5 separate regions of the Homo sapiens genome follow, and all the other regions are linked to region 5. The links are contacts of gene promoters, found by promoter capture Hi-C in blood cells and fetal thymus (Javierre and others, 2016). All regions are on one chromosome and are shown on one strand. Each heading gives the region's core, a stretch centred on a gene start or on the middle of the fragment in contact. The rest is flanking DNA. Distances are from core to core; before and after follow the strand shown.

What was found. The method cuts DNA at HindIII sites, captures the fragments that hold promoters and counts their contacts. A CHiCAGO score of 5 or more calls a contact.
Region 1: a contact is called between a fragment that was not itself captured here and the fragment with the promoter of HIPK2 in region 5, in 2 of 17 cell types (M0 macrophages and M1 macrophages). The highest score is 9.2, in M0 macrophages.
Region 2: a contact is called between a fragment that was not itself captured here and the fragment with the promoter of HIPK2 in region 5, in 2 of 17 cell types (naive B cells and total B cells). The highest score is 7.4, in naive B cells.
Region 3: a contact is called between a fragment that was not itself captured here and the fragment with the promoter of HIPK2 in region 5, in 1 of 17 cell types (monocytes). The highest score is 6.7, in monocytes.
Region 4: a fragment that was not itself captured here is called in contact with the fragment with the promoter of HIPK2 in region 5 in 1 of 17 cell types (total B cells); the score reaches 5.0 in total B cells.

Annotation. Positions count from the first base shown.
Region 1 is chr7:140,346,700-140,352,067 of GRCh38, reverse strand. It overlaps SLC37A3 (solute carrier family 37 member 3), which reads left to right. Exons shown (of 15, transcript NM_207113.3): 8 at 1-6; 9 at 617-795; 10 at 3,301-3,442. Among named protein-coding and RNA genes, the nearest start is that of SLC37A3, 49 kb to the left of the region's middle. The HindIII fragment of the contact is 5,560 bases long and covers 872-5,368 here.
Region 2 is chr7:140,299,191-140,304,386 of GRCh38, reverse strand. LOC124901758 (a long non-coding RNA gene) reads left to right here. Exons shown (of 2, transcript XR_007060560.1): 2 at 1,830-3,104. Among named protein-coding and RNA genes, the nearest start is that of SLC37A3, 97 kb to the left of the region's middle. The HindIII fragment of the contact is 6,750 bases long and covers 1-5,196 here.
Region 3 is chr7:140,365,219-140,370,710 of GRCh38, reverse strand. It overlaps SLC37A3 (solute carrier family 37 member 3), which reads left to right. Exons shown (of 15, transcript NM_207113.3): 4 at 1,029-1,121. It also overlaps the pseudogene RNA5SP247. Among named protein-coding and RNA genes, the nearest start is that of SLC37A3, 31 kb to the left of the region's middle. RefSeq lists enhancers at 1,961-2,460, 2,461-2,962. The HindIII fragment of the contact is 2,962 bases long and covers 1,973-4,934 here.
Region 4 is chr7:140,475,272-140,480,697 of GRCh38, reverse strand. MKRN1 (makorin ring finger protein 1) reads left to right here and starts at 1,193. Exons shown (of 8, transcript NM_013446.4): 1 at 1,193-1,538. The coding sequence starts at 1,354. RefSeq lists enhancers at 1-756, 1,087-1,927 and silencers at 1,063-1,172, 1,463-1,602, 1,883-1,962. The HindIII fragment of the contact is 221 bases long and covers 2,492-2,712 here.
Region 5 is chr7:139,776,748-139,782,152 of GRCh38, reverse strand. It overlaps HIPK2 (homeodomain interacting protein kinase 2), which reads left to right and starts at 4,155. Exons shown (of 15, transcript NM_022740.5): 1 at 4,155-4,548. The coding sequence starts at 4,530. It also overlaps a transcript of TBXAS1 not described here. RefSeq lists silencers at 3,810-4,039, 4,470-4,559. The HindIII fragment of the contact is 7,054 bases long and covers 2,605-5,405 here.

The sequences.
Region 1 (5,368 bases), core at 2,402-4,901, 570 kb before region 5:
AAATTGGTGAGGAGAAGCCGCCCCTTCTATTCCGAATGTCTTACTATTATGGCCGAAAGGAAATCTGAGGCCAAGAAATCGAATCTCTTTTTTCCTAGGAAAACTCTGAGCTCCTTTTAGTGAGTGAAAGGAGAACAGTACTGCCGTTTGAGTCCTGTCGACATTGTAGCCAGCCCCTGGCACAGCTGGACGTGTTTGAGGGGAGTGATGCACGTCTTTTATAGATACAGGAAAATCTTCGCATTTGCAAATTATTTTTATAATTGAGACACTGGCAAGGAATGAACATAGATGTATTTCTGATTTCACTTCTTGAAACATTTCTTTTCATCCATAAAAATGATGCACAAAAAAGATACTTAACCTGTAGTTAAATACAGATTACATACAAATGAAACCACAGAAGCAAACAGATGTACAATTCTTCTATCTTTTGAGTATTTTTAGATAGACTGTGTGACTTTAATTGACCTTAGTTGACCTCGGTCTCTGGACCTTCGTTGCTGCTTCTGTAAAATGGAAATAAAAATAACATCACCTCATAAGTAGGGATGTATGCAGAGCCCTTCACACGTGGTAGGCACTCCATAAACAGTGGCTGTCGCTGTTATTTTAGGTCTCTCGGGTATTGAGGCAGAAGAAAACTTTGAAGAAGACTCACACAGGCCATTAATTAATGGTGGTGAAAATGAAGACGAATATGAGCCGAATTATTCAATCCAAGATGATAGTTCTGTTGCCCAAGTCAAGGCGATAAGCTTCTACCAGGCATGTTGCCTTCCTGGAGTCATACCGGTAAGGACCGCTTACATCTTACCACAGCCAGGGAGGTATGAGAGCCCGTGACATCTCCTCTGCCTGAGATAAAGCTTCCTTAAGTATTGAGCCTCTGTTGGATACTTTATTTTAGGAATATACGTGCTGAGGAATGTTGTCTAGTGCCCCTCAGCTTATCTGATCTCTAATGCAGGGGTTGACAAACCTTTTCCATGAAGAGGCAGAGAATAAATATTTTTGACTTCGGGGAACCATCCAGTCTCTCCCCCAACTACTCAGCTTTGTAGAACAAAATAAGCCACAGAAAACATGGGACAGTTAGACGTGGCCAGACTTGGCCAAAGAGCTCTGCTTTCCTGACCCTGATCTGGTATGTGATTAAAAAGGCAAAATTGATAATTTTTAATGTGTGCTTTTGGGCCTTTCGAAGTATTATAGAATTATATGTGGACCAAGAAGAAGGGTTGTGAATGGTTCCTAAGTCTGCCTTGCCCCCTTTTATTTTTTATTTATTTATTTATGATTTTGGGACGGAGTGTCGCTCTGTCACCCAGGCTGGAGTGCAGTGGCGCAGTCTCGGCTCACTGCAACCTCTGCCTCCCGGGTTCAAGCGATTCTCCTGCCTCAGCCTCCCGAGTAGCTGGGATTACAGGTGCATGCCACCATGCTTGGCTAATTTTTTGTATTTTTAGTAGAGACAGGGTTTCACTGTGTTAGCCGGGATGGTCTCCATCTCTTGATCTCATGGTCTGCCCACTTTGGCCTCCCAGAATGCTGGGATTACAGGCGTGAGCCACCGCGCCTGGCTTGCCCCCTTTTAAAGGGTCCAGAAGAGAGCACTCCACAGTCTTTCTTGGTAATGCATTCCAGTGTTTTCCACAGCCTGTGCAGTCAGGAAAGCCTTCTAACGTCTACACTAAATCCCTTCTGCTGCAGTTTTTCTGTCTTGATGTTTCGGGCACTCTAGCACTGGAGTGGAAGTTAAGAGGCCTAGGTTATGTTTCCAGCTTACCCACTAACTTTCTGTGACACCTGGGGTGAGTCACGCAACCCGTCCGTGTGTCTCAGTTCCCCTTCCCATGGAATAGAAATTATTCCACTCTTCCCTGGGGCCTGTAACATTGGGCTGTTGTGTTTTGAACAAGCACCTGTTGTTATTTCATTTGTCAATGGTGCTTTATGAATGTGATCCCTCAGGTAGAGTGATCTGTAGGCCATCTTAATACATGCCTGTCAATCCCCTTCTGTCAGTGCCTCCAAGCTGAGAGAACTAACATTTCCAACAAAGTTAAGTATGAATTAAAATGTAATTTTCCACAATTCTTTAACCCAGTGATGATATATGATATAAGAGAAATGCAGGTTGCTTTAGACCTGTTCTTATGCTATTGATTATTATCTTTTAACTGGTTTTTAAAGTACTCTGCTGGTAATAGTTTAATTTTTGAGAAAGAACTTTGTCGTGACTAAATATGGACCTCTTTTGCTGTTCCTTTGTTCTTCACAAGCTATTGTTCTCTGACATGGGCAGGGATGTAAAGGAAATCTAGTTAACTTAATTCCTTTGTCTTTGTAGCAGGCTGTCTGGTCAGAATGCACTCGTGATTGGGATTTGGCTCTCTAGGGGGTGGCTGTTGCCTGCCAGGGAAGCTGTTTTAAAACAAGTGATACCTAGGGAATAACTGGCAGCTCCAGGGAAAAGAATATACTAGCCAGACACCCTTTGAAGTCAGCCCCTCTGTCCCCCCCCCCTTTTTCCTTTGATGCTGAATGTCAGGATTTCCTGGTAGTAATGTGTTGAATATAGGAGTCTCAGCCCCACCACCATCTTCATGCAGCTGCAGCATTTTTTTCCCCTCAAGGGAGAGCCACGAGGCCGATGATGACATGTTCTTTCATTTTTGACTCGCCAGAGAGACTCTCTTCTTTGCCACCAGACCAGGGAATGTGGAGCTTTTGAAAACTAGTGTGAAAGGAATTATCATGCTGCTGCTTTTCTTAGACCGTGGAACTGTAGTGTAGTCCCTTTGCTGTCCATTGTTCACAGTGTTGCCTTGGCAAGGAGTAGAATAACCAACCCCGTTTGGCTGCTCCCAGTAAAGGCCGTGATGCTTCCTGGACTTCTTTGCCTATGGTTAACGCTGGTTAGTGGCATGAATACCATTCCTCTTTGTGTGAATAAAGAAATATGGGTATGTGCTCTGCCTTATAGGTTCAAAACACTGGCTTGCTTCTACCAGAGAACTGATAGGAGGAGAAACTGGACACAGCTAAGAAGTAGCCATAGGTGTTTTTTATTCCAAAGGCCTGCTGTACATGCCTGTCTAGAAGTTAACAGGGATGAAGAGCAGAGGGAGACTAGCTGAAGTCAGGCATGTGGGAGTTTGTAGAGATGTTTAACTGTAAAATCAGGTTCTGTTCATCCTAACTTCCTTTATTTTGTTTTGCTTTTAAATGACATTAAAAATGGTAGTCGTGCTGTGCTATTTGTCCCTCGCTGATAGTTGAATGCTTTTCTTGTAGTACTCACTGGCCTACGCCTGCTTGAAGTTAGTGAATTACTCCTTCTTCTTCTGGCTCCCCTTTTATCTGAGTAACAACTTCGGCTGGAAGGAGGCGGAAGCCGACAAGCTGTCCATTTGGTACGACGTTGGAGGGATCATAGGTATGCCGGTGATACATCTTTTCCATAATAAAGAGTTAGTCACTAGTGATCTTTTACTGGGTTGTGAAATCTGGCCTCATTTAAAGTTTTATTACTTATTCTACAGCCATTTTCCCTAAACTGTCCTACTAGTAAACAGCCAAACTCAAAAAAAAAAAAAAAAGAAAAGAAAAGAAAAGAAAAAACAAGAGGTCCATAGAAAGGAAGACCTAGCCTAAGGCAGCGCTGTGATTTATTGGACTCTTTTTTCTTAGTCCTTTGTTGATGGATCAGTTCTTTTGTCTCGGGAAGCACATGGGAATCTCTTTAAATGCAATCCTTTCATACGGCTTTCTCAGTGATATCTTAGCTCTAAAGCTAATTGTATGTCAGAGATCCAAGTTAGAATATGAACGTGTTCATTGTATCTACCTCCCACCTTCCCCACCTTCCCCAGCCTAATAAGGAAGAATACACCAGTCCCCCACTTATCTGTGGTTTCACTTTTCGAAGTTTCAGTTACTCTTAATACCGTACAATAAGATATTTTCAGAGAGACCATTCATATAACTTATGTTACAGTATATTGTTATTATTTTCTATTTTGTCGTTATTGTTAATTTCTGTGCCCAACTTATAAATTAAACTTGATCGTGGGTATGTATGTATAGAAAAAAACATAGTATGTATAGAGTTTGGTACTGTCTGTGGTTTCAGGTATCCACGGGGGTCATGGAACATATCTGCTGAGGATAAAGGGGAAATACACCTTAGTGTGTAGGTCGTCAGATCATAGAGGTAGACGTAACAGCAGGGATTAATTTTTGTGAATGTTTTACAGTTGTTTCATTATAAACAAAGATTTTAATAGTGGTTTTTTTTTTTTTTGCTGTAGCTAGAAGTATCAACAAGGAGGTAATAAGTATGAACAAGGAAGTAAGGCAGAGGAGCAGAATGTATTTTAGTGGGTATTACTTACATGGCTGTGCCAGATCTTAATAACCTTCAATAATGTTAACATTTAGAATTGTGGTGAGACTCAACTGCCGTGAGCTTGTGAAAGCACACAGTCTGTGCTAGGCAATCTGCTATTACTGTATTTGAACTTGGCTGCCCGTATTCTTAAATCCAGAGCCAAAGGTGAGGTTGCCACCGTTAGACCTCACCATATTCTGTATCCTCTGAAGTTGAAATTGTCCAGCTGCCTGCTATCTGATAAGGACACACCAGATGTCCAATAGCCCCTACAACTCAGAATGGTGCTGTATGTGACATTGTTGCTTGAAAGATTCATATCCCTGCTTTTTAAAGATTGTGTCCTATTAGCAAACCATAACTGCTAAATTTTATTTTAGTGAATATTTACTAGCCACTTTTTTTTTTCTTTTTTTTTTTTTTTGGAGATGGGGGTACTGCTCTGTCGCCCACGCTGGAGTGGCACGATCTTGGCTCACTGGAGCCACAACCTCCTGGGCTCAAGCGATCCTCCCTAAGTACCTGGGGCTACAGTCATGCACCACCACACCCAGCTAATTTTTTTGTATTTTTTGTAGAGATGGCATTTCACTGTATTGCCCAGGCTGGTCTCAAACTCCTGAGCTCAGGCAATTTGCCCACCTCGGCCTCCCAGAGTGCTGGGATTACAGGCGTGAGCCACTGTGCCCACCTACTGGCCTCAATATACTGTAAGGCACAGTTTTTTTGGTTTTTGAGACACGGTCTTGCTCTGTTGCCCAGGCTAGAGTGCAGTGGCACAATACAGCTCACTGTAGCCTCAGCCTCCTGGGTTCAAGCAGCACGATACGGTTCACCACAGCCTCAACCTCCTGGGCTCAAGCCATCCTCCTACCTCAGCCTCCCAAGTAGCTGGGAATATAGGCACGTGCTACCATGCCCGGCTAATTTATCTTTTATAGAGATAAGGGCACTGTGTTGCCCAGGCTGGTT
Region 2 (5,196 bases), core at 1,972-4,471, 520 kb before region 5:
GTGTGAGTCACCTGAAGATCTGGTTAAAGTGCAGATTCTAGCCCAGATGGTCTGGAGTGGGGCTGAGATGTTTTCATTTCTAGCAATCTCCAAATGATGCTGCGGTGGTTGGTTCGTGGGCCACACTTGGAGTCACAAAGGTTGATCATGGAGCTCTATTTCTTTTTTCCTTTTTTCCTTTTTTTTTTTTTTTTTTTTTGAGATGCACTCTTGCTCTGTCGCCCAGGCTAGAGTGCAGTGGCGCAATCTCAGCTCACTGCAACCTCCCCGCCTCCCGAGTTCAAGAGATTCTCCTGTCTCAGCCTCCTGAGTAGCTGGGACTACAGGCGCATGCCACCACGCTCAGCTAATTTTTTGTAATTTTAGTAGAGGCGGGGTTTCACCATATTGGTCAGGCTGGTCTCGAACTCCTGACCTCAGGTGATCCACCCACGTCGGCCTCCCAAAGTGCTGAGATTACAGGCGTGAGGCACTGCGCTAGGCCATGGAGCTCTATTTCTTTAGAGAACTAAGAACAGAGAAATACATATTTTAGGAAGAGGATGAGTTCTGAAACCACCTCTATCATCTGCAGTGAAGCCAATTATTAAGAACACTTAAGAGTCTAGCATGTTTTGCTCTCTGGAAGAAATATAAGATGGTTCCTTTATACTGACCAAGGCAGTTTGTAATGAAAACTGTTGGCTCAACTTGTTGCTAGGGTACCGCTGGGGAACTGGCACACAGAAAATCTGTAACCTAATGTGATTGTGTGGGAACTAATGAGCTCTGAACATGACAGGCAGGGAGGGTTCTGCTTCCCTCCTTTGCTCAGGTGATGGGCTAACACCCATGTCCAATTAGGCAAACCTGGCATGTGTAGCCATTCGGGGCTGCTGCAGAGCTGTTTCTCTGGGTAGAGAAAATTGGATTGTTGAATTGTTCCAAATATATTGGTATGCTCCCGTCTCCCATCCATTTGGTTATGATAACCAGACCTGCAGACACGTTCTGAGGGTTAGAATAGCTCCAGCATTTAGAAAACAAGCCAGCCAAATACAAAAGGACCCAGATTGAGGTTATATGAAAATTGATGGACGTGATTCAGGACCTTGCTATTTTAAATGAAATGACCTTCACCTGAAGAGATCAGAGGGCGACGCTATTAAGAGGTGTTGCACTTTTACAGTATTCTTTCTGTTAGGGCAGAAAAACTTATGGAAGGAAAAAGGCAAAGTGAATCACCTTTTCTTAAGATTCAGCTGGAACCAGACACTTAGCAAAAGTGATGCTCTGCAGCTGACACAAGTAGCCACATGATTGTGGAATGATAGTGCTCCAAAATGTTCTTGGGGGCTGGATGTGGGGGCTCACACCTGTAATCCCAGCACTTTGGGAGGCCAAGGCAGGCACATCACTCGAGGTCAGGAGTTCGAGACCAGCCTGGCCAACATGGGGAAACTCCGTCTCTACTAAAAATACAAAAATTAGTCAGGTGTGGTGGCAGGTGCCTGTAATGCCAACTACTCGGGAGGCTGAGGCAGGAGGATTGCTTGAACCTGGGAGGCGGAGGTTGCAGTGAGCCGAGATTGCACCACTGCACTCCAGCCTGGGTGACAGAGGGAGGCTCTGTCTCAAAAAAACAAACAAACAAAAAAATTATTGGGTATTACTGAGCATGATGGTGTTTAATTTTGGGAGGGGATGGGGGTAGTTATTCCGGACTCCCTTCCCCTCGAATACACACATGCATAATCTTCCATATAATTTCCAGGGATTAATGGATTCCCTGGGAGATCCAGGGATTTCAGGTTAGAAACCTCTGATGTAATACATTTCCTCCTTTTCAGAGATGAGAAAATCAAGGCCCAGAAAGAAGGTGACTGACTATTGGTCTCAGCAACACTGACAGTGAACAAATCAAACAAGAAGGCAGGCACGGTGGCTGATGCCTGTAATCCTGTCATTTTGGGAGATGGAGGCGGGTGGATCACTTAAGCCCAGGAGTTCAAGACAAGCCTGGGGAACATGGCAAAGCCCTGTCTCTACAAAAAATACAAAAACTAGCCAGGTGTGGTGGCACGCATCTGTAGTCCCAGCTACTGGGAAGGCTGAGAGGTGGGAGGATCACTTGAGCCCTGGAGGTTGAGGCTGCAGTGAGCCATGATTGCACCACTGCCCTCCAGCCTGGGCGACAGAGTGAGACCTTGTCTCAAAAATATTTTAAAAATTAAACAAACAAGAGGGCTTAAGTGTCACAACCATCAATGGGGAAAGTGTCCGTGCATAATTTATTTCTGGAAGCCCTGAGAAGAACAAGCATCAACAGCTTTCTGAGAGACTTATAACTTTTAGCTGAGGGAATCTCAATATTTAACCAAATAACACTTGAAGAAAAGCAGAAATCATCGAGACAGCAGCTCCTGGGAACTAGGTTTTATGATGTGTTCTAAAGACATAAGCGAGAAGCCTGCTGTCACTTGTTAGCTGTGTGCTGAAGTGCAGTTTGGGGTGTCTTTAGGGCAGGTAATAAATTCCTTTCAGAGATTGAAATCACATACCAACGTGAATCTTCCACATCCCTGAAAACTACTTAGGCAAGATGCCTCACATGACACGGAACTCTCGATTTGGCAACACATGTTGGGGTTCAGCCCCCCACAATCCTGGCACAGTGTGGGTGCTCGCTAAATATTTATTTGGATAAAATGGGCTTTCCTTAACTTTACAGTTTTCTGGGGATAGAAGACTCAGGAAACATGAGAGAGCAGTATAAAATGTGTAAGTACACAGTGGAAGGCTGGGGTTCCTAGTGAGGATTTTAGAATCTCACAAACGAAAGCAGCCAGACACAAAAAAATACGTGCAATATGATTCCATGTACATGAAGAACAAATGTGGATCAAATTAACTTATGCCATTAGAAGCGAGAATATTGGTTACCTTTGGGGACCAGGGTTGGGGGTGAGTGTCTGGGAAAGAGAACTTCTAGGGTGCTATTAACCCTAGCCCTATTCTATTTCTTAATCGGGGGGCTGGGTGCCTCTATGGATTCACTTTGTGATAATTTATCAAATGGTTCTGTATGTGTGCTCTATTTTAATAAAAACATTTATTTAAAAATACACACACAATGAAAGATGTAGGCCAGTCCTTCCCAACCTTGAACGTGGGTACAGGTCACTTGGGATCTTACTAAAATGCAAAATTCAGGCCAGGTGCAATGGCTCATGCCTGTAAATCCAGCACTTTGGGGGGCTGAGGCAGGAGGGTCACTTGAGCCCAGGAGTTTGAGACCAGCCTGGGCAAGACAGGGGGATCCTGTCTCCTCTACAAAAAAATAAAAAATTAACTGGGCGTGGTGACACATGCCTGTAGTCCCAGCTACTCAGGAGGCTGAGGTGGGAGGATCGCTTGAGCTCCGTGGTTGGCGGGGTAGGTGTCAGAGCTACAGTGACCTATTACATAATATAATTGCGCCACTGCACTCCAGCCTGGGCAAGAGTGAGACCCTATCTCAAAAAAGAAAAAAAGAAAAAAAAAAGCAAGATTCAGATTCATTTGTCCTCTGGTATGGCATTTGATTCTGCATTTCTAGAAAGGATCTAGAGACCGGTATTGTCAGGATCCTTTTTTTAGGGAGATCCAGGGATCTGGTAAAAGTAGCCTAGGCCTATCCTGTTAACCTATTGGGCTGTTAACCGACAGGACAGCAGTTCCCAAGCCAGCCCGTGCTCTCGTGTGGGTCTGTGACGTTCACCTGCTCACAGCACCTTTGAAGGTGATTTTCCAACCGCTGGGTGGTGACCAGAGCCTGAAGTTGGGCTACCCCAGTGGGTAATCGACTGGTGACCAGCCCTTGAAGCCCACATTAGGGCCCTGGACTGCCTGCCCCATAGAAACCACTGGAGACCTGGAGGCTGTTACCCACAAATTGCATAATGAGGGCATGAGGAGCCTTGCTTCCCTCTCCATCCACAAGTGTGGGTGAAACTGGGTTTTCATCAATGACTGCTGCATAAATAAAGTGGCCATTCCAACTCCTCCTCACAGGGCTCTGGTGAGCCCTCGTAGGCTGAGGTGAATGGATCACAAGGTCAGGAGTTCAAGACCAGCCTGGCCAACATAGTGAAACCCTGTCTGTACTAAAAATACAAAAATTAGCCAGGTGAGGTGGCCTGCACCTGCAGTCCCAGTCCTGGAATGGTCTGAATATTTGTGTGCCCCACGAAATTCATATGTAAAAATCCTAACCCCCAGTGAGCTCCCTCACCAGTTCGGCCATGTGAGGACTCAGGGAGAAGATGGCAATCAGTGAGCCAGGAATCAATCAAGAAAACCATTATTTTGAGTGGGGGCTGGGTGTGGCGGCTCATGCCTGTAATTCCAGCACTTTGGGAGGCAGAGGCAGGTGGATCACTTGAGGTCAGGAGTTCGAGACCAGCCTGGCCAACATGGTGAAACCCCATCTCTACTAACAATACAAAATCAGCTGGGGTGAGCATCTGTAATCACAGCTACTCTGGAGGCTGAAGCAGGAGAATCGCTTGAACCTGGTTGGCGGAGGTTGTAGTGAGCTGAGATCATGCTACTGCACTCCAGTCTGGGCAACAGAACGAGACTTCATCAAAATAAAAAGAACAACAACAACAAAAAAGAAAACCATTATTTTGAGGAGGGGGAAAAGAAGCAAGTCATATACAACATGATTCCTTTCACAGAAACAGTAAAAGCAAGCTGGGTGTGGTAGTGCATGCCTGTAGTCCTAGCTGCTCAGGAGGCTGAGTGGGAGAACTGCTTGAGCCCAGGAGTTCAAGGCTACAGTGAGCTATGATTATGCTGATGGGCAGCCACTGGGAAACATAGCAAGACCCCATCTCTAAAAAAAACAACATGGCCGGGTGCGGTGGCTCACACCTGTAATCCCAGCCCTTTAGGAGGCCGAGGTGGGTGGATCGCCTGAGGTCAGAAGTTCAAGACCAGCCTGGCCAACTTGGCGAAACCCCGTCTCTAGTAAAAATACAAAATTAGGTGTGCATAGTGGTGCATGCCTGTAATCCCAGCTACTCAGGAGGCTGAGGCAGGAGAATCACTTGAACCAGGAAGGCAGAGGTTACAGTGAGCTGAGGTCACACCACTGCACTCCAGCCTGGGCAATAAGAGCGAAACTCCACCTCAAAAAAACAAACAATAGCCGGGCGTGGTGGCGGGCGCCTG
Region 3 (5,492 bases), core at 2,204-4,703, 590 kb before region 5:
TAGTATTCAGTTCTACAATTTTTGACAAACACATATAGTGTTGTAACTATTCCAAGATATAGAACATCATCCCCCAGATTCTCTTGTACCCCTTTTTAGTCAGCCCTAGGCAACCACTGACTGGAGGAAATTGTTTTTGAAGAGTATTGTAAAATGTTTCCTTAGATGGAGTTAGACATAATTTCTCCCATCCAAGTACTAACCAGGCCTGACCCCACTTAACTTTCCACATCAGATGAGATCGCGTGCTTTCAGGGTGGTATGGCCCTAGATGGTAGGCATAATTTCGAATTAATTGGATATTGGATTCTGCCAAACAAAAAGATTATCATCAGAATTTATTTCTTCTAAATGTCTGCTTTTAAACTTACTGCCCCACTTTCTCACTTAAGACTTCGTCACTAGCATTTGAGCATTCCAATGATACACATTTGAGGTGATACATTAATTGCCCTTATTTGATCATGACATGTTGAATATATGTTGAACTATCACACTGTACTCCCTCAATATGTACAATTACTATGTGTCAATTAAAAATAATAAAAGCAAAAAAAAAAACTAGTTATTTCTTTCTTTTCTTTTCTTTTTTGTTTTTTTGAGACGGAGTTTCGCTCTTGTTGCCCAGGCTGGAGTGCAATGGTGCAATCTCTGCTCACCACAACCTCCGCCTCCTGGGTTCAAGCAATTCTTGTGCCTCAGCCTCTTGAGTAGCTGGGATTACAGGCATGTGCCACCATGCCTGGCTAATTTTGTATTTTTAGTAGAGACAGGGTTTCTCCATGTTGGTCAGGCTGGTCTCGAACTCCCGATATCAGGTGATCTGCCCTCCTTGCCCTCCCAAAGTGTTGGGATTACAGGCGTGAGCCACTGTGCCCGGCTATACTAGTTATTTCTAAATACATTTGAAGTAAAAGTTGTTCTTGAGCATTACTGGTGCTTTGGAAGTGTTTGTGAAGGGGCTTTGGGAAACAGAAAGCCCTGGCAGATTCTACAGGGACTGACCTGTTCCTGCTGTCTTACTGTAGATCTGGAGCAGCAACCATTTGTTCCCCAGTGCAGAGAAAGCGACTCTTTTCCTCGGCACACTGGATACCATTTTCCTCTTCTCCTATGCTGTGGTAAGTTTTGGAACTCTAGGGCTTAAAGCTAAAGAAAAATGTAAATATAAATGACCCTGAGCCTTACAAAATTTGTAAGGGATTTTGAATTTGCTGACTGAGGCAGAGTTCAGTATTTCTGAAGTTTATATTGTTTGTTCTTCCCATTCATTTATTCATTCATTCGACAGATATTTATTGCTCATCTAGCATATGTCAATGGGAATTTATCCCGAACAACACAAAATGCCCTGCCTTTATGGACCTGTATTCTTGGAGTTAGGGGAGACAGACAGTAACCAAATGCTACAAATAAATTATAGAGTATATTTGAAGGTGGTAAGTACAACGGAGGAAAATAAAGCAGAGAAGGGGGACTAAAGGGGCCTGGGTGAGGTTGTAATTTTAAGTAGCACAGCCGGGAGACCTCAGGAGGCAGCGGGCATTTGAGTGAAGACCTGAGCAGGTGAGCGAGTCGGTGTGCTTGGATCAGAGCTGCAAGAAGAGAGGCCAGAGATGCGGTGGGGCTCAGATCTGTAGGGTTTTGGTACCTTTGGGGCGGCTTTGGCTTTAACCTTGAGTGAGATGGGAGCTGCTGGAAGGTTTTGTGCAGAGCAGCGGCAGGACCTGACTTAGGTTTGGATAGGTGCACTTGCTCTGGGAGCCGAGTTCTTTTGAGGTGAAGGATGATGGTGACTTGGGTCCAGCGCAACAGTAATAGAGGTTGGGGGGAAGTAGATTTTAGCGGTGTTTTGGAGGTAAAGCCAATAATATTTTTTCCCTCTTGAATGTGGAATGTAAGAGAAATGTGTCAAGAACACCTCCAGGGTGGAAGTGTCATGGCAGAGGGGAGACTGGGGAGATAGAAAGCTTTGATGACTCGCTTTTGGATGCATTACATTTGACCTCTGCTGCCCAGATGATGAAGAGCAGACACTTGGTCATTGAGTGTGGAGTTCAAGGTGTAGGTTCAGTCTGAAGATACATGTTTTTGGAGTCCTTGGCCTTTATTATTATTATTATGTTTTTAATTTTTTATTTTTGAGACAGAGTTTTGCACTTGTCGCCCAGGCTGGAGTGCAATGGCACAATCTTGGCTCACCACAACCTCCACCTCTCGGGTTCAAGCAATTCTCCTGCCTCAGCCTCCTGAGTAGCTGGGATTGCAGGCATGCGCCACCACGCCCGGCTAATTTTGTGTTTTTTTAGTAGAGACCGAGTTTCTCCATGTTGGTCAGGCTGATCTGGAACACCCAACCTCAGACGATCCGCTTGCCTCGGCCTCCCAAAGTGCTGGGATTACAGGCGTGAGCCACTGCGCTCGGAGTCCTTGGCCTTTAGATGATTTATAGATCAAAACTGTGAGGCTGCGTGAATTGATCAAGAGAACAGGCGAGGGCGGGGAAGAGGTGTGAAACCTGAGCCCTAGGGCTTCCAGTCCTCAGAGGTGGGTGAGGAATGGGCCAGGTAGCGGGGGTGGAGTGGTAAGAAAGGTGGGGCTGGGCGCGGTGGCCCACGCCTGTAATCCTAGCACTTTGGGAGACCGAGGCAGGTGGATAACTTGGGGTCAGGAGTTTGAGACCATCCTGGCCAGCATGAAGAAACCCCATTTCCAATAAAAATACAAAAATTAGCCAGATGTGGGTGCCTGTAGTCCCAGCTACTTGGGAGGCTGAGGCAGAAGAATTGCTTGAACCCGGGAGGAGGAGGTTGCAGTGAGCCGAGATTGCGTCACTGCACTCCAGCCTGGATGACAAAATGAGACTCCATCTCAAAAAAAAAAAAAAAAAGGAAGGTGGGATCCTGGAGAGGTAGCACCCTGGGAGACATTCCACGGTGGCGAGGAGTAATTCAGCGTCAGGATAGGCAGCTGGCGTCTCTGTCTGGCTGTAGGAACAGCTGTGGTGGATGCCACATTAGAGTTCTGGAGCTGATGGTGGCAGCAGCTGGAACGTGGACTGTGAGAGGAGCCTTCCTTTTCTCCCCAGCATATAAGATGCTGTCTTTAAGTATGCCTTATTTCTGTCTTTAAGTGTGCCTTATTAAAAACGCCTTTTAATTCTCAATGTCCAGGCAATGTGAAATACTGGGTAAAAGTTCTGAAGTAGTTTCTAAATGTTTATTTGGTTAGTTATTTTTATTTATTTATTTAATTTTATTGTATTATTATTTTTTGAGACGGAGTCTTGCTCTCTTGCCCAGGCTGGAGTGCAATGGTGCTATCTCAGCTCACTGCAACCTCCGCCTCCTAGTTCCAGTGATTCTCCTGCCTCAGCTTCCTGGGTAGCTGGGATTACAGGTGCACACCATCATGCCCAGCTAATGTTTGTATTTTTAGTAGAGATGGGGTTTCATCGTGTTGGCCAGGCTGGTCTCAAACTCCTGTCCTCAGTTGATCCACTTACCGCTGCCTTCCAAAGTGCTGGGATTACAGGCGTTAGCTACCATGCCTGGCCTATTTTTTTTTTTATTTGAGATGGAGTCTTGCTGTGTTGCCCAGGCTGGAGTGCAGTGGCACAATCTTGGCTCACTGCAACCTCTGCCCCCTGGGTTCAAGCAATTCTGCTGCTTCAGCCTCCTGAGTAGCTGGGACTGCAGACATGTGCCACCATGCCCTGCTAATTTTTTTTGTATTTTTAGTAGAGATGGGGTTTCACCGTGTTGGTCAGACTGGTCTCAAACTCCTGACCTCAAATGATCCGCCCACCTCGGCCTTCCAAAGTGCTGGGATTACAGGTGTGAGCCACTGCGCCCAGCCTATTTGGTTAATTATTAAGAGTATCTTTTCTTCAAAGAGGAAACAGAGAAACAGTTGGAACAGTTCTTTGGTCATTCATTTAGTCTACCTCCTCACCTTGGGTATTTTCTGTATAAAATCCCCATGTAGAGGCACGGGGCTTTGGCTGGAGCTGGTGACAGGGTGCTCGCTTCTCTTCGAGCCACTCATTTCTTTCAGGGACCAGTTTAAGAGGCAGTGTAGTCTAACTAGCTGTGTTAAACTTGGTTGCGAAGTAGAATTTAACCTTTTTTTGGTGTTTAGTTTCCTCATCTATGGAGTCATCTATAGGACTAGATTTAGGACATAAAGGATCAATGCCATGAAAAATCAATGGTCATGGTTTTTTTTTTATCTTGAGCTGCACTTCCTTCTGTAACTTATGGGCATTTTGCTTTCTGCAGCAAAACAGAATGTATTGATTCTGGTGGGGCACGGTGGCTCACGCCTGTAATCCCAGTACTTTGGGAGGCCAAGGAGGGCAGATCACCTGAGGTCAGGAGTTTGAGACCAGCCTGGCCAACATGGCAGAACCCCATCTCTACTGAAAATACAAAAATTAGCCAGGCAAATTCAGTTAGGACCAGGTGTTTCTAATAAATTGACTTATCTCTAAAACTTGGCTGGGCGTGGTGTCTGACGCCTATAATCCTAGCACTTTGGGAGTGGGGAGAATTGCTTGAGGCCAATACTTCAAGACCAAACTGGCCAACATAGCAAGAACCCATCTCTAAAAAAACAAAAATTGGCAGGCCTGTAGTCCCAGCTACTCGGGAGGCTACGGCAGGAGAATTGCTCGAACCTAGGAGACAGAGGCTGCAGTGAGCCAAGATCACATCATTGCATTCCAGCCTGGATGACAGAGTGAGACTCTGTCTCAAAAAAAAAAAAAAAAAAAAAAAAAAAAAAAAAAAAGCATGTATTGTTCTGTCATCTGAAGCAGAATTGAGATTTTCTTCATCCCTTTTGTTCTGTGTAGCATAAGTCCATATGAGGGGCAGCTAGACAACATAGAATCTACTTTAAGGCTGACATGCTTCTCTTAAGATGAGGAAGCTTGATGATAATGAGGGAGAAACGTTCATATTTAAATTTATCTTCTCATTTTTTTTTTGAGATGGAGTCCCACTCTATCGCCCAGGCTGGAGTGCAGTGGTGCCATCTCGGCTGACTGCAAGCCCCGCTTCCTGGGTTCAAGTGATTCTCCTGCCTCAGCCTCCCAAGTTTCTGGGATTACAGGCGCAAGCCACCATGCCTGGCTAATTTTTCTGTTTTTAGTAGAGACAGGGTTTCACCATGTTGGTCAGGCTGGTCTTGAACTCTTCACCTCAGGTGATCCACCTGCCTTGGCCTCCCAAAGTGCTGGGATTACAGGTGTGAGCTACTGCACTCGGCCAATTTTTTTTTTTTTAGAGATGGGTTCTTGCTATGTTGGCCAGTTTGGTCTTGAACTATTGGCCTCAAGCAATTCTCCCCGCTCCCAAAGTGCTAGGATTACAGGCGTGAGACACCACGCCCAGCCAAGTTTTAGAGATAGTCAATTTATTAGAAACACCTGGTCCTAACTGAATTTAGGTTTTCAGTCAAGATATTTTATATATTTATGGAAGAAACCT
Region 4 (5,426 bases), core at 1,353-3,852, 700 kb before region 5:
GCAAGCTTCGCCTCCCGGGTTCACTCCATTCTCCTGCCTCAGCCTCGGAGTAGCTGGGACTACAGGCGCCCGCCATCATGACCGGCTAATTTTTTTGTATTTTTTAGTAGAGACGGGGTTTCACCGTGTTAGCCAGGATGGTCTCAATCTCCTGACCTGGTGATCCGCCCCCCTCGGCCTCCCAAAGTGCTGGGATTACAGGCGTGAGCCACCGCGCCCGGCCAGTACAAAGGTTTTTAAACAGATTCTCATTTAACTTTCACAGCCATCTCTGAAGTAGGTACTATTATCTATTACTATTATTATTATTTTGAGACGGAATTTCATTCTGTCGCCCAAGCTGGAGTGCAGTGGCGCGATCTCGGCTCACTGCAACCTCCGCCTCCCGGGTTCAAGGAATTCTCCTGCCTCAGCCTCCTGAGTAACTGGGACTAGCCACTACACCCGGCTAATTTTTGTATTTTTAGTAAAGACGGGGTTTCACCACGTTGGCCAGGCTGATCTCGAACTCATGACCTCAGGTGATTCGCCTACCTCAGCCTCCCAAAGTGCTGGGATTACAGGCGTGAGCCACCGCGCCTGGCCTATTATTATTATTATTGTCGTTTTTACAGAGGAGAAAGCAGGAGCACCAAGAGGTAGGATAATTTGCTAGAAGACCCATGGCTTAGAAAGGGAAGCCTGGAGATAAGGGGACCAGCCCTCTAGAGCATTGCTCAGCCAAAATACTTGGCCAAGATCACATCTCTGATACCAGGAATGAGATAACCTTTATTAAGTGTTTACCATGTACCAGGCACTAAGCTCAGTGATTTCTAAGGACATCATATAATCCTCACAGCAACCATATGTGGGTCTGCTGTCATCCTTATTCGAGAGAGGCTGAAACGGAGGCTCAGATAGAACAAGTACCTAGCTCAAATATTACTAGAGAAATGGGAAAGTGCAGATTCAAACCCAGGTCTTCCGACTGCAAGTCCCTAGTCCCCAGCCCCAGCTCCACTATATCAGCCTCTGCTAGGAAGAAAGCCGCTAACTATGGACTTTCGTCGCCGGGGTTTCGAGCCTAGGACACACCTGTACAGACCCCCGTTTGCCCCGCCCCTTTCCGGAGGAGACGTCCCCTCCACCAATGAGCGGCGCCGTGGGCGGGCCGCGGGCGCGCATGCTCTGGGCCCGCAGTTGAAGTGGCGAGAGCGCTCAGATACGCGACGCGTAGCAGGCGGGGACCGAACGGGTGCCTCAGTGTCCTTCCCCTCCCCTCGCCTGGCCTCGCCGTCCTCTCCCCGCAGCCGGACCGGAACTATGTGATCCCGGAAGTTCCGGGGCCTTTGCTGTGTGGGATAAACAGTAATGGCGGAGGCTGCAACTCCCGGAACAACAGCCACAACATCAGGAGCAGGAGCGGCAGCGGCGACGGCGGCAGCAGCCTCCCCCACCCCGATCCCCACAGTCACCGCCCCGTCCCTGGGGGCGGGCGGAGGGGGCGGCGGCAGCGACGGCAGCGGCGGCGGCTGGACTAAACAGGTCACCTGCAGGTAGGACGTTGCGCGGCGGAGCGCCGGGCGCGGGGAGGGGGCCGCGGGCCAAGCCTGCGGCGCGGGAGGGAGGAGGGCGGCCGGCCTGCGGCTAGAGGCGCGGGAGGGCGGGGACCGGCGTTGTCTCGATCTCTGCAGCCCTCGCGGCCCCCGCTGCCGCCGCGTTCCCCCAGTCACTGCGTCAACCCCCGCTGGGCCGCGGAGCCCTCAGCGCTGTCCGCGGAGGCCTGGCGGTGCGCGATTACTGCGGAGCCGCGGGGCTGCACCGCCGCTTACACTTCCCTGAGCGCTGCCTGAGCTGGCTGCGAGCGCATCGGGGAGAGGTGGGCTGGCTCCTCCCCTGCCGCTGGAAGGATGCCCCCGCCGCTGCCTCCGGCTCCCGGGGCTCGGGAGGTGGTCACTTGAGGCCGGTCTCCCAGCGATCCTCTCCGGGCCTAGACACCCCGCCGAGGGCCCCAGCGAGCTTGCCTGGCTCCCGGCCCTCTCCTCTCTCCGTGCCATCCGTTTGTAACGTCTTTTCACGTCCCTCCGTCCCTCCGCCCCCCATCCTCCGCCCAACTGTGAGAAGAAGCTTTTGTATTTCTTCTTTGTATGTTTGTCGAGGTTGGCGGTGCTGAGCTTTGTCTTAGAAGCAGGCGTTCGGGGGCCGGGGTCGTCTTCTCCACCCGCGGTTTTTTTGAGCTGCAGATTATTACCCTCCCCCAGCGCTATGTTCCTCTTTTGAAATTTACGCATCTTCCGAAGGGAGTGAAAGGGCTCTTCGCTCCCGGAAGAGAGAGAGGTTTGGTTTTGGTTTGATATGCGAGACGAAAATATTAGAAAAATTAAGGGATGGCGGTTGTATGGATGTGTATGGTTGTAAAAAACTACCTAGCTCTACGCAGAAGAGGGCATTTAATTGTACGTTTTTTATTTTCCGGTTTTTAAATAGTGATCAGTAGCGACTGTAAGCTTTTCTTTTTCTATCAGTTGAATAAATCAACTGAAATGCCGGTTTTCACCTGGGTGGTATAATTTATATGCAAGTATGTAAAAATGATTCCTAATTAGAACTTGTAGTATTAAGGGTGAAATTTGAAACCTTCCCAGTCTTTGATGTGATACATTTATCCTGGCGACCTTCGAAGGTCTCTCAGCCTTTGATATGATACATTTAAGGTGTGAAGGATAAGCTTAATTATTTTACATAATGGGATGTAGAAAGCATAAACGCAATTTCAGGTCACTTGTCTTATTCATCGGTGGATTGTAAAAGTGGAATATTGCCAGGAATGATGATTTTAAAGTTTCTACTCATGGAGCAAATTATTTGAATATCTGTTTCCCTTTTACAATGCTACAGTTGATCTATATGTGCTAGTTACATCTTTTAAAAGATTGAAACCGGCCTGTCGGGGTGGCTAGGTCGGCGTGGTGGCTCACGCCTGTAATCCCAGCATTTTGGGAGGCTGAGGCGGGCGGATCGCCTGAGGTAAGGAGTTCGAGACCAGCCTGGCCAACATGGTGAAACCCTGTCTCTACTAAGAATACAAAAATTAGGCCGGGCACAGTGGCTCACACCTGTAATCCCAGCACTTTGGGAGGCCAAGGCAGGTGGATCACGAGGTCAGGAGCTCAAGACCAGCCTGGCCAAGATGGTGAAACCCCGTCTCTACTGAAAATACAAAAAACATTAGCCGGGCGTGGTGACAGGCGCTTGTAATCTCAGCTACTCCGGAGGCTGAGGCAGGGAGTTGCTTGAACCCAGGAGGCAGAGGTTGCGGTGAGCCAATATCACACCACTTCACTCCAGCCTGGGCGAAAGTGAAACTCTGTCAGAAGAAAAACAAAAAAGAAAAAGAAAGAAAAGAAAGAGCTTAGATTTACTAGTTTTTGGGGGTTTTTTGTATAGCTTTTGCTTGAGACAGTTTTTTATTGTTGTGCAGATTCCTTGATAGGTCTGGGGTTTTAGTGTTTGACATTGTTTTCGGTTGTTCTAGGTACCAACATGATCTCTTACTTAAAACTATTTTCTCCTTTAGATAGAGGAATGTCAACTATCATTTTTTTTTTTTTTTTTTTGAGACAGAGTTTCCCTCTTGTTTCCCAGGTTGGAGTGCAATGGTGTGATCTCTACTTACCACAACCCCCGCCTCCCAGGTTTAATTGATTCTCCTGCCTCAGTCTCTGGCATTACAGATGCCTTAGTAGCTGGGATTACAGGCGTGCACCACCATGCCCACCTGACTAATTTTGTATTTTTAGTAGAGACGGGCTTTCTCCGTGTTGGTCAGGCTGGTCTTGAACTCCCGACCTCAGGTGATCTGCCGGCCTCAGCCTCCCAAAGTGCTGGGATTAGAGGCGTGAGCCACCGCACCCGGTCTATGATCCTTATCGTTCACTTTGAGCTCTCTGAGAAGAGTAGGGCCCTATTTTATCTGCAGGGCTTTCTTTCCTCAGTTCCTCAGTTTCTTTCCTCAGTTCCAGTATCATGAACAGGATACTCAGTTACTGAGTATCCTGAGCAGATACTGAGTAAATGCTTGAGTGATGTTGATAAAGTCATATACCTAGAATTACCCACTTTAACAGGAACTTTGTAAGATTCCTCTGCTTTCATTAAAAAAAAAAAAAACAAAACTTGTAAATTACCAAAGACAAAGTACTTAACAGAACACATGTGTATCTTCCTTTTTTTTTTTTTTTTTTGAGATGGAGTGTCGCTCTGTCGCCCAGGCTGGAGTGCAGTGGCGAGATCTCAGCTCACTGCAACCTCTGCCTCCTGGGTTCAAGCGATTCTCCTGCCTCAGCCTCCTGAGTAGGTGGGATTACGCCCGGCCACATGTATATTTTTTCTGGAACTACCTTATTCAATCATTCAGTAAGTAAACATTGCACGCCAGCAATGGGAGACACAATATTAGGTGTTCAAGAGAGTGCAGATGTATGTACTGTATTATAAATAAACATTTTCAATATGTTTGCTAGGTAAACATCACCTAAAGAATCAGGTAGAGGTGTGTTTTAGTGTTTGTGCTCATTTCTCCCTATAGCACATCACTCCTGTATCTAGGAATTTGACTAAAGCTATTTTCTTCACTTAGAAGTTTTGATTAGAATGTTTTTAATTGCTCGGAATCACCTGTATTTTCCTACTGGTTACATTTTTTCTAATGTTTCTCCTGGGGTTTTCATTGTGTTTTATACCTTTCCTCAGAAACTGTGTTATGCTGCCACCACCAGGCTGTTTTTCATATCTTTTATTAGAGCAATACTAAGAAACAGAAATGCTCATTGCATCTGCTACCTTGAGTTACCTTGAGTGTGTGAGGTTAGAACAGTTAATACTTAAAGAGAAGTTGTAATTTGAATTTAGACCCCTCTTTATTAGAGTGCTTCTATAATGGCAGATAAGTGTTCTGGTAGTTGAAATAATACACAAAAAAACAAGTGTTTAATTTTTAATTTTTCAAAAAACTCTTTTCTTGATTTTTATTTGTATTTATTTGTATTTTTTGAGATAGGGTCTCGCTCTGTCCCCTAGGCTGGAATGCAGTGGCAGTGTCTTGGCTCATTGCAGCCTCCACCTCCCAGGCTCAAGCAATCCTCCTGCTTGAACCTCCCCAGTAGCTGGAATTACAGGCACGTGCCACCACCCCAGGCTAATTTTTTTTTGCATTTTTGATAGAGACAGGGTTTCACCCTGTTGCCTAGGCTGGTCTTGAACTCCTAAGCTCAAGTGTTTCACCCGCCTCGGCCTCCTAAAGTGCTGGGATTACAGGTGTGAGCCACCATGCTTGGCCTTGAAAGTTGTGTTTTGTTTGTTTGTTTGTTTGTTTTCTGAGATGGAGTCTGTGTCGCCCAAGCTGGAGTGCAGTGGCACGATCTCGGCTCACTACAACCTCTGCC
Region 5 (5,405 bases), core at 2,906-5,405:
GCTTATTAAATAAATAAAATACAATGCACACTATCTCTAGCCAAATGGGACAGCTCCCAGACCCCTCTCATTGTCTCAGGCCCATGACTGGTAAGGCCCTCTCTGCTTGGAGCAATCTCTGGTGCTCTTTTCTGGTACCTCCTTAGCCCTCCCCATCCTTCTACTATCTCCACCCATAAAACAGGACACATATTCAGGTAGAATTTAAGAAACCTGTATTTCCCTCCAAACTAGTTTCACCAAAGTCACTAATGCAACTCTTGTTGCTAAATCCAATTGATGCCTTTCTGCCTTTTTTTTTTTTTTTTTTTTTTTGAGATGGAATTTAGCTCTTGTTGCCTAGGCTAGAGTGCAATGGCACTAGAACTCGGCTCACTGCAACCTCTGCCTCCTGGGTTCAAGCGATTATCCTATCTCAGCCTCCCAAGTAGCTGGGATTACAGGTGCCCACCGCCACGTCTGGCTAATTTTTTTTGTGTTTTTAGTAGAGATGGAGTTTCATCATGTTGGCCAGGCTGGTCTCAAACTCTTGACCTCAGGTGATCTGCCTGCCTCAGCCTCCCAAAGTGCTGGGATTACAGGCGTGAGCCACAGCACCCAGCTGCTTTTCTGCTTTCATCTGACGTGGGCCTCTCAATAGCATGCAGCACTGTTGACCTTGCTGGGATGTTGAGGAATCCCCCGTCCTGGCTGTCCTCCAACTTCTCTGCCCTCTTGTCCATGGGGAGCTCTTTTTCCTCTTCCCATGTCTCAAATACTGGTACTCCCCAGGTTCTGTCACAGATCCTCTCTCCTCCCAGCTCCCATGCTCTCCTTCAGTGACATTTCACTGTTAGGTTTATACCTTGCTGCCACTTGACTGCAGTCACCGGAAGGAAAGGAGACAATTAGTATACTCAGTCTGCCAATTCATGAAGGAAAATCTAAGCTCATTTCAAGAATATTTTTCCGTTATATCATACGAACTTCGCTAGCTCAATTGAATGCATGTTTTGCATCTCATGGATACAGCTTCAGTCATGGTGGTCTGAAGAGAAGGTGGACCTCTGTCTGTATGGCTCCATCTTGTTCCCCTTCCATGGGACTCTATTTCCTTGCCCAAGATTGTTCCCTTCTTATGGGGAGGAGACTACCTGTAAAATGTTTTCGGTTGACACAAGTGATATTCATTTTAAGACTGCCTAGAATCACTCACTGCTAGACAGCAGCTGGGATGGACTTAGAGGCAGTTACTGAACACTGGTCAGTGCTGAATTCAGGGGCAGTCCTATAAAGCAGGGCCTTGCTCCAAGACGCTGCCAATCCAGTTATGAACACAGGGTACCTACACAGAAGACAAGAGTCAGCCATCTAGGGTGCGGGTATGCTGTGGACAACAGAGTGTGAGCAACAGGCAGGAAATGTTCTGTGAGCCTAAGGAAAGATGAGACAAAAGTCAGTGGGGCTGGTCAGAGGGAGGAGTTAGAATAATAATAACTTTTATTGAACCCCTACTATGTGTCTGCCCTCTATATAAAACTCTCTCTCTAATCTAACCCAGCCTCAGAGGCTGTGATGAGGACTATATGAAATGCCTTTTATCGAGTTTGTAGTGTTGTGCTGGACACAAGGGAGCATGCAACAAATTGCAGCTATCATCCATTCAACAAATATGTGTGCAGTACTCACCATGCGTTAGGCAATGCAGTTATTGGACATACAATCCAAAACAAGAAAAACATGGTTTCTGTCCTTACTGAGCTTACAGTCTAGAGACACCTTGTCCAAAATGGTAGCCACTAACCACCCATGGTTATTAAAATTAAAAATTCAGTTCCTCAGTCATACTAGCCACATTTCATGTGCTCCACAGACATAAGTAGCTACACTGCCATTATGGCAGCAAGTTCTAATGGCCAGCACTAGAAAGGGGCAGAGAGACATGCATGTAGGGTATGTATTAACAGGGAGTTACATACCTGTGTGGTGAAGGCTATGATAGAGATTTACAGATGCAAAAGGAGAACATTACTATTGTTCTCCTTCTCATAATCAAAATACAGACACTGAGGCTCAGAGAGGTTAAGCATTTTGACCAAGATCACATAGTTAAGTGGAAGAGCTAGGATTTGAACCTAGGTCTGACTTACTCCCACGCTATCTCGGGCTGTTTTGTGGAGGAGGTGAGCCAGGCACAGGTAGAATCTGCTTAAAGAGAGAAGATGGAGAAGGTACCCCTCTGGGAAAGTGGGTGGGAAAGTGACCGCTTGGGCAAAGGCACAGTGACAGAGATGGGTGAAGCTGGCACTGGGCTACAAGTAAACCAGTTTGGCTAGAGAAGCAGTGACTTGCTGAACTCATGTCCTTAGAAAGCTAAGTCAGGACTCGCCTGCCTTGATGAAAAGCCAAGGCACTCAGCCCCACCTGCAGAGGTTGAGTCCTTAGAGGATGTTAGCCAGGAGCGTGGCATGGCCAGAACCACGTATTATGAAGATGGCAATATTTAGGATGACCTGGGCCAAGACTAAAGTTAAAGATTGCAGGGAGGATAGAAGGGAAGGAGATAAATGACCGGTGTGGAGCAAAAAACACTAGAGTGGGAGCCACGAGACCTATTCCTAAGCTTCAATACTGTGTGACATTGGGCAACAGATTTTACTTCTCTGGACTCCATTTCTTCAACTCTAAAAGGGCAGGGCTGGCCCAGATGACCTCTGAGGTCCTTTTAGCAACAGTAGTCTAGGATTCTGCAAACGTGAATGGCATTAGGTTAAGAGAAGGGATAGGAAGTGTAGCATTGATTATGGGGGCAAGGAAGACCGCAGAGTACAAGATCACACAGAGGAAGGTGTCGTGATGTACCACTAAAAAAGTGTGAAAGAGCTTGCCTTTTTTGGGAAGGACTGAAGGATGGGAACGGAGGATGGAGACCGGAAAGGATAAGAAGTAGTGAGAAAATCACGAGGTTGTTTTTAAGAAAGTTATACAGTGTTAGAGATCATTATTTTACACAGATAGCTTTTCAACTTTTTTAAACCCACGATTCACAGACGGAAATAAAATTGACATCATGGTCCAGTACACTTGTCCAGTACCTATAATCGAAACAAAAGGTTTATGAAACAATAGTTGCCCTTACTAAGGGCAATGGACTCTAATATTTTCTATTGGATTCCATTTCGTTCTTTTTGAAAGCTGGTTGCCTTCCGCTGCATTTATTTTATGATCTATTACTGTGTCACGACCCACAGTTTTAAAAACAGTGCCTAAGAGGAGACTCAACAAGTCTTCCTAAGTTGGAGGGGATGGCAGGGCATCCTATCCAAGCATCCGGGAGGCAGCTGGAGAAGCAAACCTGGAGAGGCTCCCGGCTGGGGAGAGTCTGGAGAGTGTTTAGCGGAAGCCCTGATAGGAGAGAGCGCTGAGAAAAGCGAGGACCCAGAGAGTTGTGAGCTCCCATTCAAGTGATGGAGTGGCGGCCCTCGGGACAGTGTAGACGCGAGGAGGAGAAGATCAGGGTGGCGTGGAAGCCAGACTCCGGCAGGAACCCAGCGACCACCCCGGGGGCTGCATTTCCGCGGCGTGCACGGCAGGGCTTCGGTGCCTCTGACCTCGTGTGGCTTTCCGAAGCTCCTCCACTCACCCGCCCTCCTCCGGAGCACGGCGCGCGCCCACTCCTTCATTCATTCATTCCACTCCTACCTCCGCGAGCGCCAACCGGCTGTGAGATGGGCGAGCCACTTTGCCAGCGTGGGGCTCTCTTTCGGGTCGGTTCCCTCCCCGCCAGCACACGCGCGAACCCTCGCACCTGGGCACACACGCGCGCGCGTGCACACACACACACAAAGTTCTGGGGGCCCCTCTGCAGACCGGCTCGGCTGCGCTGGGCTCGGAGCCGTGCGCCCGCCGGGTCCAGGCCGGCCCTCTCACCCACTACCCGGGGCCCGCCCTGCGCCCAGTCCCCCCGCGCTGCGCGGCAGCCCCTCCCAGCGCGGTCCCCTCGGGCCGCCGGCGCGGCTCTGCCCTTCGGTTCGGCCTTCCCCGCCTCGCATCCGTGCCATCGGCGCTCGATTGCGCGCGGACTCCCTGTGGCTCTCCCGGCCCCGCGCCCCGCCCCCGCCCCCGCCCGCCGCCCCCCTCCGCCAGCAACTTTTGCGGAGCCCCCGCGCCCAGCCATGCTGAGCTGAGCCCCGCCGGCCCTGGCCGCGCGCTGCCCCCGGCTCCCGCCCCTCCGCGGATCCGCTCGGGGGCCGCGGCCGCTCGGCGCCTCGGCCTCGGCCGCTCCGCCCGCCCGGCCGCCCCGAGCCCCGAGCCCCGAGCCCCCCGCGCCGGGCCCGGGCGGCAGCGGCGGCGGCGGCGGCGGCGGCGCGCCCGGCCCCCTCCCCCGGCGCCGGCCACGGGAGGCGGTGATGCGGGCGCGGGCGGCCTCGGCTGCGCCGAGAGCGGAGACACAGGCTCAAGATGGCAGATTCCGACTGAGGCTGGGGGGGCCGAGCTCGCGCGCCGCTTTCCCGTCCCCGTTGCCATGAACCGCGGACACCCCGGCCCCGATGGCCCCCGTGTACGAAGGTAAGGGGCGCCCGGCCCCGCCGACCCCGCGCCCGCCGCCCTCCGCGGCCCCCGCAGCTTTGTTCTGCCCGCGGCCCCGCGCCCGCAGCCCCCGGCGCCTGCCCCAGCCCCCACCCGGGGCCCGAGGGGGCCGCGACCCCCTCCCTCGCCCGGAAGATGACCGGGACCCGGCGCCGGCAGGGTCTTGCTTCCAGGGCGGGGAGAGGGGCCGGGGGCGCAGGAGGGGAGGGGGCGTGTGCGAGGGTGGGCGGCTGCCCGGGGAGGGCAGGGACGCCGGGGAAGGCGGACCGGTGACTGTGCTTTTTATTTATTTGCGATAAATGAAGGTGATGCGGCTTAGCTTCCACCGCCCCCCCACATTACCTTTCGGAGCACCTCCTTTCCACTTCGCTCTCCGCCCCGCGCCCCTTCCCATTTCTTTCCGCGCCCACCCCACGCTCCTTTATTCTCCGCGAGCCTCCGATTTTGGGGGGGCTGTGGAATCGGAATGCACGGGGCTAGGTGGGGAGAGAGGAGAGAGATGAAAAGTCCATGTCAGAGCCAGGCAGAACAATGAAATAGGCGAAAATCTCCCCTCATTAGCGTGTGGAAGGGGACGTGGACTTTGGGTTTTCCAGCCGGGGGAGCGGCGGAGACGTTTTTCTGGCTCGGTCTGGGTCGATCTGTGTTGTGCACCTTCACCTGGCATCGGGGTATTTTTCCCCATTTGACTGCCTTTAGCAAGAAAGAAAAGAACGCAAGGCAGAAAAGCAGTAGGTCTGCCTCGCACACTGTCTTTCGTTTCTCTTCAGTCCGTTCTGTCAGCTTCCAGCCAGAAAGCAACCCAGAATCAACTAAGTTTTTACACTTCGATGTGT